4 separate regions of the Homo sapiens genome follow, and regions 2, 3 and 4 are each linked to region 1. Evidence: promoter capture Hi-C in human tissues and cell types (Jung and others, 2019). All regions are on one chromosome and are shown on one strand. Each heading gives the region's core, a stretch centred on a gene start or on the middle of the fragment in contact. The rest is flanking DNA. Distances are from core to core; before and after follow the strand shown. Region 1 holds the start of PLA2G3 (phospholipase A2 group III). Region 2 overlaps LOC107985544 (a long non-coding RNA gene). Region 3 overlaps MORC2 (MORC family CW-type zinc finger 2). Region 4 overlaps PIK3IP1 (phosphoinositide-3-kinase interacting protein 1).

What was found. Contacts are between HindIII fragments. The study calls those that stand out against the background at their distance.
Region 2: a contact is called between a fragment that was not itself captured here and the fragment with the promoter of PLA2G3 in region 1, in 1 of the 25 tissues and cell types used here (thymus).
Region 3: a fragment that was not itself captured here is called in contact with the fragment with the promoter of PLA2G3 in region 1 in 1 of the 25 tissues and cell types used here (lymphoblastoid cells).
Region 4: a fragment that was not itself captured here is called in contact with the fragment with the promoter of PLA2G3 in region 1 in 1 of the 25 tissues and cell types used here (lymphoblastoid cells).

The regions. Positions count from the first base shown.
Region 1 is chr22:31,139,100-31,141,963 of GRCh38, forward strand. PLA2G3 (phospholipase A2 group III) reads right to left here and starts at 1,409. Exons shown (of 7, transcript NM_015715.5): 1 at 742-1,409. The coding sequence starts at 1,255. RefSeq lists enhancers at 913-1,471, 1,472-2,031. The HindIII fragment of the contact is 19,816 bases long and covers 1-2,864 here.
Region 2 is chr22:30,910,238-30,913,101 of GRCh38, forward strand. It overlaps LOC107985544 (a long non-coding RNA gene), which reads right to left. Exons shown (of 3, transcript NR_146603.1): 2 at 1,061-1,194. Among named protein-coding and RNA genes, the nearest start is that of MORC2-AS1, 11 kb to the right of the region's middle. The HindIII fragment of the contact is 5,460 bases long and covers 1-2,864 here.
Region 3 is chr22:30,927,591-30,930,454 of GRCh38, forward strand. MORC2 (MORC family CW-type zinc finger 2) reads right to left here. Exons shown (of 26, transcript NM_001303256.3): 25 at 429-617. Among named protein-coding and RNA genes, the nearest start is that of MORC2-AS1, 6.7 kb to the left of the region's middle. The HindIII fragment of the contact is 7,715 bases long and covers 1-2,864 here.
Region 4 is chr22:31,280,644-31,283,507 of GRCh38, forward strand. PIK3IP1 (phosphoinositide-3-kinase interacting protein 1) reads right to left here. Exons shown (of 6, transcript NM_052880.5): 6 at 957-2,645. The coding sequence ends at 2,441. Among named protein-coding and RNA genes, the nearest start is that of PIK3IP1, 10 kb to the right of the region's middle. The HindIII fragment of the contact is 3,713 bases long and covers 1-2,864 here.

The DNA.
Region 1 (2,864 bases), core at 159-2,658:
AGCCCACGCCCCAAATAAAACTCCAAAATTATGAATGTGTGTATGATGGAATGGCAAACAGGCAGGGTGCAACCTTTCTCACTGGCACAAGGAGGTGTCGCCAGGATGCCAACCTACTCTGACTCAGGTGCCAAGCCCTCCCCCAACCCTGCACACAAACGCACAGACATCTGTACTGATAGTGCAAGAAATTCATCTATGTTTATTACCATCTAAAAAATAGCACTCTTTACTAAGCATTTCCCACATGCCTGGCACTTCCCACATCCAGGTTCACAGCCAGCCCTGAAAGGGAGGTATCACCTTCATTTTACAGGTGAGGAAATAAGTCCAGAGAGGGGAAGTGACTTGCTCAGCTTGTATGTGCTGAGTTGGGATTTGAACCCAGGCCTTTCGTCTCAGCATCCATTCCACTGGGCACCCCGTGCCCACAAAGCCTCCTCCTGGGTAATGGCTTTTTGGCTCAGTTGACCCTGGATCCTCCCCCAGCCTGCCCAGTCCCTCGGATGGCATTTAATGAGGACTCCCAGGTTTGAATAAGACTTTCCCCAACCGTGACCTCATTTAAGCACCCCATGATGAGATTCGTGATTGCCCCCACTTTACAGATAAGGAAATTGAGGTTCACCATGGTCAAGTCACTCCCCCAGGGACACACAGCCTAGGAGAGTAAGGGCTGGGGCTGAAGAAACCTTGCTTCCCCGATCGGACCCCCCAGCCCACACACCCCTCATGGCTCACCCAGCTCCGAGGAGTTCCCAGCAGAATCTCCAACTCCACACCACAGTGTGCCAGGCATGGTCCATCCTCTCTTCTCTCGCTGGTGCCCTCCACCAGGGACTCCACTCTGCCCTGCTGCTCGCTTCTTCCTGGCCCCTGCTGGACTCTCCTCAAGCGCTCGGCATGCCTCCCACTGACTCTGAAGAGTGGCCAGTGCTCTCTGCAGCTCGGGTCCGGGGGTGTGGATGAAGGAGCCCCAGGCAGTCTCATGAGCACAGAGAGCACCGTAGGCTGCGGTGAGCTCCGGCTCATCCTCCCAGCTACATGACTGCAGCCTCCTATGCGCATCCCAGCGGGCATGGATCAGGGCCAGTCCCTGAGCATCCTTGGCCAGGAAGCTCAGGTACCCCAGTGGGTTGCCAGGGACGGCCTTGGTCAAGTGGCAGGAGGTCCTGTACCAGCGGAGGGCAGGGGAGCCCCCCAGGGCCACCCCCAGGAAGCCCAGCATCCCAAACAGCCCTGCCTGAACCCCCATTCTGCACTGGCCCAGTCCAGTCAGACAAAGCCCCTGGGATGCCTGCCCTTGGTGGCCCCACCAGGCGGCAGCTGAGCAGTGGAACGGAAGCGGAGCCCAGCAGGCCCGGTGCGGCGGGACCAATGAATGGAGCTGCGGGAGGAGGAGGAAAGAGGCTGGAGTATGGGGTGATCTTGGGCTTGTAACCGAATCCACCAGCCGGGCAGGACGCTGATTGGCTGAGGAGTGCACTTGCCAGGGCCCACGCCCCCATTCTGCCTGCCTTCTCAGCACCATCCAGTCACCTGCTGCCAGCCCTGCCTAGATTGGGACTATGGGAGCCAAAGCCCTAAGCTGTGGGATGGGGACCAGGCTGGGGCTTTCACATCTCCTTGAAGGGAAGGAAAAGGGTTCAGGAGCTTGGAGGAGTCCCTTAGAACCCACCCTTCTCACCCTTACCACAGCGGTGGCTGCCACATCCACCTCCATCAGGCTGGCAGGGGGCCATGGGCCTCTGCCAGGGCTGGGTGAAGGAAGGGCTGGGGCTCTGAAGCTACCACCCTGGGAGTTCCCAAGGCTTCTGGGAAAGGGAGTGCCACCTGGGGTGCTCCCCTGCCAAGTCCTGGTTCTTAGAAAGGCTCTCGGCATACTCAGGGGACAGAGCCCCAGGGCTCCCCGCTTCCTAGGACTCCAAGCATGGGCCTGGCCTTGCAGCAACCCTCCTGGTCTGATAACTGGGGGAGACGCAGCGGGAACAGGCCTTGAGAGCCACACAGGGCAGGGCTGATGCTCTGGATTTGAAAGAACTATGGTCCCTAGAGTGGCAGAGAGTGGCCCAGGGTGTATGTCTGTGGCCACCTCCATCCCTGGCCACCTGGGGGGACACAGCAGGCATCATGTGTGCCTCATGAGACAGGAATCTCTCCATCAGGAAGGGGCTATACCCAGGTATTGTTCCTGGATCCCAAAGCCCAGCTTCCAACCATCTAGTGAGGCCAGGGTGCTTACACCCATAGTGCAGATGAAGAAACTGAGGCTCAGTGAGGGTGGGAAAACCTCAGGTGACAGGCTCCAGCTGGGGAGGGCTTAGAGGATGGGAATGCAGCGCTTGGGGATCTGGATGGGAGTCAGGGCTGGCCAGGACAGTGACTTGTCTGTCTTCCATCTGCCCATTAGCCTGCTGCTTCTCCAGCCTCCCCCTGCCCCAGGCTCCATCTGAGTCTCTTCCAGGGGATGAGCCCCAGTGAGGTAAAGCCAGGGGCAGAGCTGGGGAAGGAGAGCTCACTGTGTGGCAGAGGGGGAAGGGGGCTGCAGGGTGGGCAGGTCCATCTCTGTAGCTTCAGAACCAGCCTGGGCCTGTGGCTCAAAGCATCATAGCTGGGAACAATGAAGAGAAGGGAAAGAGGGTAGGGCTAGTCCAGGGACCAAGCGCCTTCTTGCCAGAGGTTGAGAAAGGGGGTGTGGAATACAGCGAGTGGTGGCAGAGGAGGTAGACCTGGGGTCCCCAAGGGCAAGGATGTAGCTGAACAAAGGTGAGTCCTTCTGTGAAGAGTTGTGATGTTTGAAAAATCATCATGCTGAGACTTCCTCCCATCATAGGAACTGCCACCCACCTCTGCCCCCTTTTCCA
Region 2 (2,864 bases), core at 269-2,768, 230 kb before region 1:
ATTTTATGTTGCAATTATTTACAAAGCCCAATGAGCTTAACTGTAAGTTTTCACTGCCTCAAAAGAGCCTCCAAAGGTAGGGCATATAATAGGAAATTTGGGGCCCCCAAGGGCTATACCTTCAATGTAATGGTGAATCCAAAATAAAATACAAGAAAAATCACTTGTCTTAAAGGTTGGTCCTGAGCAGAGAAAAACAAAATCCCCCTAAGAATTTGTAATCAGGAGTGGACCCTCAGTTAGTTTTGCAGCCCAAATACACACTACCTGAATGGCTCAATGAAACCTCTGACAGAGAACGTAACATGGTCCGAAGTTGGCAATGTTCCCAGTCACCTGGGGGAAGCAAACAAGTCCTCTCTGGAAGATATCCCCTTCATTCTAGGCCTTAGAGAACCTCAGATATGAAACTGCAGGGAAAATGAGCAGCTCACAGTATAAAATCTCCAAACACACAAGGAAACAAGCACCCATGAGCAAGGGCAACCAGAAATAACAGATAGCAGAATCAGACAGAAAACTCTTCCACACAGCAAAATTATCAGATACAGAAGAGAAAATAAGCATGTTTAATATATTTCTAGAAACAGAAAGGCAGCTTGAAAATAAGTGAAGAGTAAATATTCAAAAATACTAAACAAATTTCAAGAAAATGTTTTAAAATCACTAAAAATAATTCAGTGAATAGTTTTACAACAGATTACACAGCTGAAGAGAGTATTAGTGAAGCAGAAGTGAGATCTGAAGAAATTTGGAATACAACACAGAGACACAAAGAGGTGAAAAATATCAAAGGGACGTTAAGACATGAAAGATAAGATCCCACATATGTCTGATCTATTTCAGAAGGAGAAAAGAATTTTTTATGGAACAGAAGCAATCTTGGAAGAGTTATGGCTAAAAGTTTTTCAAGAAATCATGAAAAGCACCAATATACAAAGTTAAGCTCAACAAATCCTAATTATGGTAAATAAAAAGATATCCACAGCTAAATACAACATAGTGAAACTGCAAGATTACTAAGACAACAAAATCTTACAAGCAGATTTTTTTAAATTACCTTCAAACAGCATAAATTAGGCTGGGTACAGTGGCTCACACCTGTCATACCAGCACTTTGGGAGGCTGAGGCAGAAGGATCACTTGAGACCAGCAGTTGGAGACCATCATGGGAAAACAGAAGAGACCCCATCTCTACAAAAAAATAAAAATAAAAACTAAATTAGGCAAAGTGGTATGTGTCTGTAGTCCTAGCTTCCCAGGAGACTGAGGCTGGAGGATTGCTTGAGCCCAAGAATTTGAGGCTGCAGTGAGCTATGATCACATCACTGCACTCCAGCCCAAGCAACAGAGTGAGATCCTGAAAATTCATCTCCAAAGGAAGGCCAATTAGACCGAGAACAGATTAGACTGAGAGCCTCCAAAGGAAGTCAGAAGACAATGAAGTATTACCTCCAAAATAGAGAAGAAAATGTTAGTGTTCTCCTCAGTCAAAATATCTTTTCCACAGGTCACGTGTGGTGGTTTATGCCTATAATCCCAACACTTGGGGAGGCCAAGGTGGAATGATCACTTGAGGTCAGGAATTTGAGAACAGCCTGGGCAATATAGCAAGACTCCATCTCTACAAAAATAAAATAATTAACCAGGCATGGTGGCATATGCCTGTAGTCCCAGCTACTTGGGAGGCTGAGGAGGGAGGATAACTTGAGCCTAGAAGTTCGAGACTGCAGTGAGCTACACAATCATCCTGTCTCTGTCTGTCTCTGTCTCTATCTCTCTCTCTATATATATGTGTGTGTGTGTGTGTGTGTGTGTGTGTGTGTGTATGTGTGTATAACTAAATTTTATTTAGCATATTAAACAGTATATTAAATTTTTTTAAAAAAAATATATAGTGTCATGTGGAGTGAGACTATGATGAGTTAAGATTATGTAAAACTTATCAGGTAATCATTGAAGGAATAGCAATACTAAATTATTTCCAAAGCAGTAGAAGAAACACATTGAATGCAGGGGGGAAAAAGCTCAGTAAATCTAAAGAAGGCAAGAGAGGAGAGGAAAAAAGAATGTAGAATAAAAATCACAAATAAGAGAATACAAATACATCAATAATACATCAGTAATTACATAAAATTTAAGTAATCTAAATGCTTCAAAGAAAAAAATATGGACTAAAAATAAAATCCAGCTATATGCTATTTACAAGAATACACCTAAAACATAAATATATAAACTAAACAGACTCTAGGGCAAAAAATATTACTAGATGTCAACTACTAGAATTTTAAGGTCATTTTGTAGTGATAGAAGGTAAAACTCATAAATTTCTAAAACTCTTATGCACCTAATAACATCTCAAAATGTATAAAGTAAAATGGATAAAGATAAATCCACTATCATAATGGAAGATTGTAATTTATTTCTCCCAGTAATTAGAGCTCAGACAACAAATTATGTTAATTACTATGTAATTAACAAACTTGATGTCATGGACACATATAGGGAATTAAATGTGACTGCAGAATACATATTTTTGAAATGCACATGGAACTTTTATGAACATTAACCATATATTTAATCCAGTCATAAGGCCTCAGCAAATTTCAAAGGACCACATTCTCAGACTGCAATGAAGACAGTTCAAAATCAATGACAAAAATAAAACTGGGAGGAAAATACAGGCTAGAACATTAAGAAATATATTTTGAAATAACTCATAGGTCAATGAAGAAAACAACAGAAATCAGAAAATACAGTTAAAAAAAACTATATATTAAAACATACAGAATACAGGTAAAGCAGTACCTTGAGGAAAATTTACAACATTTAAGACTCATGTAAAAGACTAAAAAATTTTTAAA
Region 3 (2,864 bases), core at 132-2,631, 210 kb before region 1:
AGAGCAGGAACCTTCTCTGGCTTGTCTTGTTCATTCTGTATCCACAGGACAGGCACAGAGCAGGCCCTCATGCTTATTGCCTGGATGAAGGGCCAACAGGCTAAGGGGTGCTCCCCACTTCTGGGCTACCCAATCCCATCTGGGCGTCATGTGGAAAAGAACTTCGTTTTTATGGCTTGGAGGGTTCTCAAACCAGGTTGTACGTCGGAATGTCTAAAGGGAAAAAGCCTGGTTCTATGGGTCTGGCTGGGCTGAGGACCAGGCAGCCACACCATCTCAAGCCCTCCTGCCAGGGTGCTGTGCAGCCAGGGTGAGAACCATAGATTCCTGTGAGTGGATAGATTCTTGTGAGAACAGGAACAGGGCCCAGGCCCCCCTCCCTGAGAGACCAGGTGGTCCAGCTGCAACAGGAAGGCTGCCGGGCTCACCTCCTGCACCTTTTGCAGGAGTGCCACGATGTTGGTCCTCAGCTTCTGCAGCTTCTCCTCCGTCTCGCGGAGCTTCCTCTCGGAGGTGCGCAGGCTTTCCTCGGAGGCCTTGGCCCGGGAGTCAGCACGGCTCTGGTAGGAATTGCACAGGTTTTGGAGCCCTACTTCATATTGCTTGAAGTACTCCTTCTGTTGGGAGCAGAGCAAGAGGGAGAGTGTGTAAGTTCACAGGGGTCCCCAGGGCCCTTCTAGGCTGACACGGGTGTCTCCAGCCCGCTTTACCCAAGGATGCCTGGTCTGAAGGAACATCTTAGATACAAAGGGCAAACAGCCTCTTTACGTCCAGAGTAGAGAGACATCAATGCCTATCTTGTGGGGCTGCCACAAGGAAGAAGACAATTAGCACACAGGTGAAGCACTCAGCACAGTGCTCTGGCAGACAGCAGGCCGTGAGGACGCGTGAGGGGCGATTCTTACCATTCCAAGTGACAAAAAAGGATGACAGAATCGCTCTTCCATGCTCAATCATAACCTGTCTGACTTCAGTACAGCCCTTTCAACCACCCACTTCCAAGACATACCCAACAATGTCAGCGCTCATGTCAGTTCTCTTTCCACCTACCAACCAACAGCAGATATCTCCAGATCTGTGGAGTAGTATATACTTCTACAGCATCAGAGCTTTTTACTATTTTCCCTGAGTACCTGAAACCTCCAGGGGGAGAGGTAGGAAGGGAAACAAGCAGTTTTTCTAGTGGCTTTTCAGACTTATAAAAGGGAGCAGAATACTTGTTTCAAATGAAATGTCACATGGAATCTCAGTGTGAAAAACAATGTTAAGTAGTATCTCTTTAGGTTCAATTTATTTTCCAAGTTCAAATTTATAACATGACTTACTCGTAAATCACTGAGAATCATGAGGCCACTGTGATGAACACACACGCCACAACCAGCAGGTGCTAGCTGGCTGCTGCAGTCTTATCAACTCTGGTGTTTACTTCTGTAAAGATGCATTAGCTGCCTAGCCTGGAGAGGCTTCTAGATGCCATTTTTAAAAACTGTTACTGGCAAGTATTTAACTGTGTCATTCACCTTATCCTACTAAACCAAGATAGCAAGAGAAACTTCTAGTTCTACACAAAACAGTAATTGCCTTGGCAGCACAAAATAAATACTGGAGCAATCTCCAAAGTATTAAAATTCAGTATACAACATCTTGAAAGTAGACATGGTTTGTAATAATTTTTTCTTAATTATTTTGAGGTAACTGTAGATTCACATATAATTGTTACATTAGTTTTTTTGAAAAAATGATACTTTAATATTGCAGGGCTCCTGAGGCTCTATGGAACTCCTGATCCATATGGTATAAAGGACGTAACTGACAAGGACATAATGAACAGTAGACTTTGTTTTATCCCTGATGCTAAAAAAATAGTTTGAGTGATGGCCAGGCGTGGTGCCTCACACCTGTAATCCCAGCACTTTGGGAGGCCGAGGCAGGTGGATCACGAGGTCAGGAGATCGAGACCATCCTGGCTAACACGGTGAAACCCCATCTCTACTAAAAATATAAAAAATTAGCCAGGCGTGGTGGCGGGTGCCTGTAGTCCCAGCTACTCAGGAGGCTGAGGCAGGAGGCTGAGGCAGGAGAATGGTGTGAACCCGGGAGGCAGAGCTGGCAGTGAGCCGAGATTGCGCCACTGCACTCTAGTCTGGGCAACAGAACGAGACTCTGTCTCAAAAAAAAAAATAGTTTGAGTGATTTTAGACATTACAATTAGCAGGACAAAGGTGATACACTGGTATTATACCTCCTTGTACAAAAAGAAGCTAATATACTTTTTTTTTGACACAGTCTCGCTCTGTCACCCAGGCTGGAGTCCAGTGGCACAATTTCAGCTTACTACAACCTCTGCCTTTCCCCGGGTTCAAGCGATTTTCATGCCTCGGCCTCCCAAGTAGCTGGGATTACAGGCATGCACCACAACATCTGGCTAATATTTTTTGTACGTTGTAGTAGAGATGGGGTTTCACCATATTGGCCAGGCTGGTCTCAAACTCCTGGCCTCAAGTGATCCACCTTCCTCAGCCTCCCAAAGTGCTGGGATTACAGGCCTGAGCCTCCACACCCAGCCTAATATACTATTTTTAGACACTCATGCACTTTGTTTGGGCCCAGGCATTCAAGCCCACTGCAGAGATCCTGCTGCACCCAGGCTCTACTCTGAGTTTGGCAATAACCTTAAACCAAAATCAACAAATCTGACAAGATGCCAGGCCAACCTAGCCACCCTATTAGCTGCTTGTTCCTCCTGGGATTTGCAGAGAGCACCTGCAGCCTAAACAAGGACAAAAGTTGAAGCATGGATCTTTCTGTGCAGCAGCTGTGATTTCTGCACCTTCTAGCTCCCTCGCCGAGCACCACTCCCTCAT
Region 4 (2,864 bases), core at 242-2,741, 140 kb after region 1:
CCAACTTAAGGACAGAATATGGTTCCCGAAAAAAACTGATGATCTGGAGTACGCATTGCTGGCAGAACCACAGAGCAATGGCTGGGCATGGGCAGAGGTCATCTGGGTGTTCCTGAGGCTGATAACCTGTGGCTGAAATCCCTTGCTAAAAGTCCAGGAGACACTCCTGTTGGTATCTTTTCTTCTGGAGTCATAGTAGTCACCTTGCAGGGAACTTCCTCAGCCCAGGGCTGCTGCAGGCAGCCCAGTGACCCTTCCTCCTCTGCAGTTATTCCCCCTTTGGCTGCTGCAGCACCACCCCCGTCACCCACCACCCAACCCCTGCCGCACTCCAGCCTTTAACAAGGGCTGTCTAGATATTCATTTTAACTACCTCCACCTTGGAAACAATTGCTGAAGGGGAGAGGATTTGCAATGACCAACCACCTTGTTGGGACGCCTGCACACCTGTCTTTCCTGCTTCAACCTGAAAGATTCCTGATGATGATAATCTGGACACACAAGCCGGGCACGGTGGCTCTAGCCTGTAATCTCAGCACTTTGGGAGGCCTCAGCAGGTGGATCACCTGAGATCAAGAGTTTGAGAACAGCCTGACCAACATGGTGAAACCCCGTCTCTACTAAAAATACAAAAATTAGCCAGGTGTGGTGGCACATACCTGTAATCCCAGCTACTCTGGAGGCTGAGGCAGGAGAATCGCTTGAACCCACAAGGCAGAGGTTGCAGTGAGGCGAGATCATGCCATTGCACTCCAGCCTGTGCAACAAGAGCCAAACTCCATCTCAAAAAAAAAAATCTGGACACAGGCTGCAGTTGTCACTTTCCAGTAACAGGGCGAGGATGAATGAAGAAAAGGCCCAGAGCTTGCCACATAGGTGTTGACAAGGTAACCCAAAGCTTCTCAACTTACACGGAGGGTTCCTGTTACCCCTCAAAAACTTGGCAATGTGGAGTCTTTTTTTTTTTTTAATTAAGTCAAATGCAGAGCAATTTCCCACACTATATGCAGGTGTCAGAATGAGGTATATAAAACATGTATATAGAGAAATGCCTTTATAGAAAAGTAGAAACCAGTAATATTCTCTTCTCCAGCATCACTAACACCAAGAGACCACCTGAGGTCTAGGTCCCCAAAGCAGATGGCTCCATAGAAAGCCCCACTAACCCGTCTCCACATTGGGCAGTGGAAGGGTTCTGGAAAGGAAGCTCTATGGCTAGGAGCTGCCAAGGCCTCTTGAGTGTGACATCACAGGTTAGAGGCCCTGCTGAGCTGCTAGCACAGTGCAGTGGAGAAATGTTGCGCTCCGTCAGGAAGCTGGGCTCTTGCCATGCCAGTAGCTTGCTTACGACCTTGGGCAAGTCACTTTTTCCTCTCTGGGGTCCTGTGTCCAAAAGGCTTAATGAGCCCTTTCTAATGGTTCTTTGATTGCTTTATGAGTTAGGGGCTGTGACCCTAGCCCCAGTGCCCTACAGGAAGGTGCTGACCTGGACGCCCGCAGGACCACCTGCTAAATCAGGCCCACTTGGGGAGCAAGCCCTGAAGTGCTTTATTACCTTGCCTCTGAGCTTAGTTTCCAGGTTAGCCTCTTAGAAGCAGCTCACAAGGCCCCACAGTATAATTCCCATAGGTTAGCTAACTACTCTCTTACCTGTGCAAAATGAAGACAGGTCACTATCCATCCCTGAAGAGAAACTGGGGCATCCCAGGTCTGCCTCTGCTCCTGTGGCCAAAGGCGGAGCAGATCCTTCTCTATCCTCTTCCTAAGTGGAATGCTCAGTGCAATTCTTCCTTTCCTTATGAAACAGGAAGAGTCCCTGGGCCCAGGCCTGGCCCACGGTTGTCAAGGCACATCATTGCCAGCAAGCTGAAGCATACCAGCAGCCACAACCTAGATCTCATTCCCAACCCAAAGTTCTGACTTCTGTACAAACTCGTTTCCAGTTCTCAGAGGTCAGTAGGGAGTTCCATCCCAAATATTTTAAAAACTAAATATATTTTTTCAATGCCATCCCTTGACCTGCTTTACCTTAACCATGAATAACAGTGTATGCCACTCAAGCCCACAGTGGAGACTGAGGCCATCTTAGTAAAGCACAGAGGAGCCTGGGGGAGCTCCCCGTCTATCCCTGGTTCAGTTCCAGGGGTGCAGGCAATGTTTGGAAGCCCTTAGCAGCAGCATCACTGTGGGAGCTGCCACTGTCTCCATCCACAGACAAAATCTGCTCCAAGGGATGGACAAGGAGCACTGTTAGGACCCTACCCAGCCTTACCCTCAGCCCACAGGGCCACCTGCTTCTGTCACTCTTACTAGGATTCGCCAAAAAAGCGGGGGAGTGGTAGGGTTTTAACCAGAACACAAAGTGGTAGTTCCTCCTAGCTGTAGGAGGGTGGGCTGTCCTGCACCAGTGTCTGCATGGGCTCCTGCCCACTGGGGGGGCTCAGGCCCCAGGAGTCCCGGCCTGGCCCATAAGGGGGGTGGTGCCCTCCTGAGGGTCAACTGGAGTCTGGCTGGTGTGGACCACGACAGTCTTCTCATCCACAATCTCACAGGTGGGGTTGGTGAAGGCAGACAAGGGCAGAGTGATTCGCTGCATCTCCCTCTCACATACTTTCTGATCATGCTGTTCTTTCAAATCCTTCCCCCTGGCAGGAAAAAAACAAACAAACATTCAGGCTATGCCTCCTGCATAGCTTTGCTCATTAGATAGCATCCCTGAGGCTCAGCAAGAGCAGCAGCTTGCCATTGTCACAACAAATCAGTGGCTGAGCCAGGACCCAAACTCAGGTCCAGGATTCTAGGATATCCATTCTGCAAGACGGCGTTAAACTCAACAAGAAGCTCCTGCACCTCTGGTCTTAGGT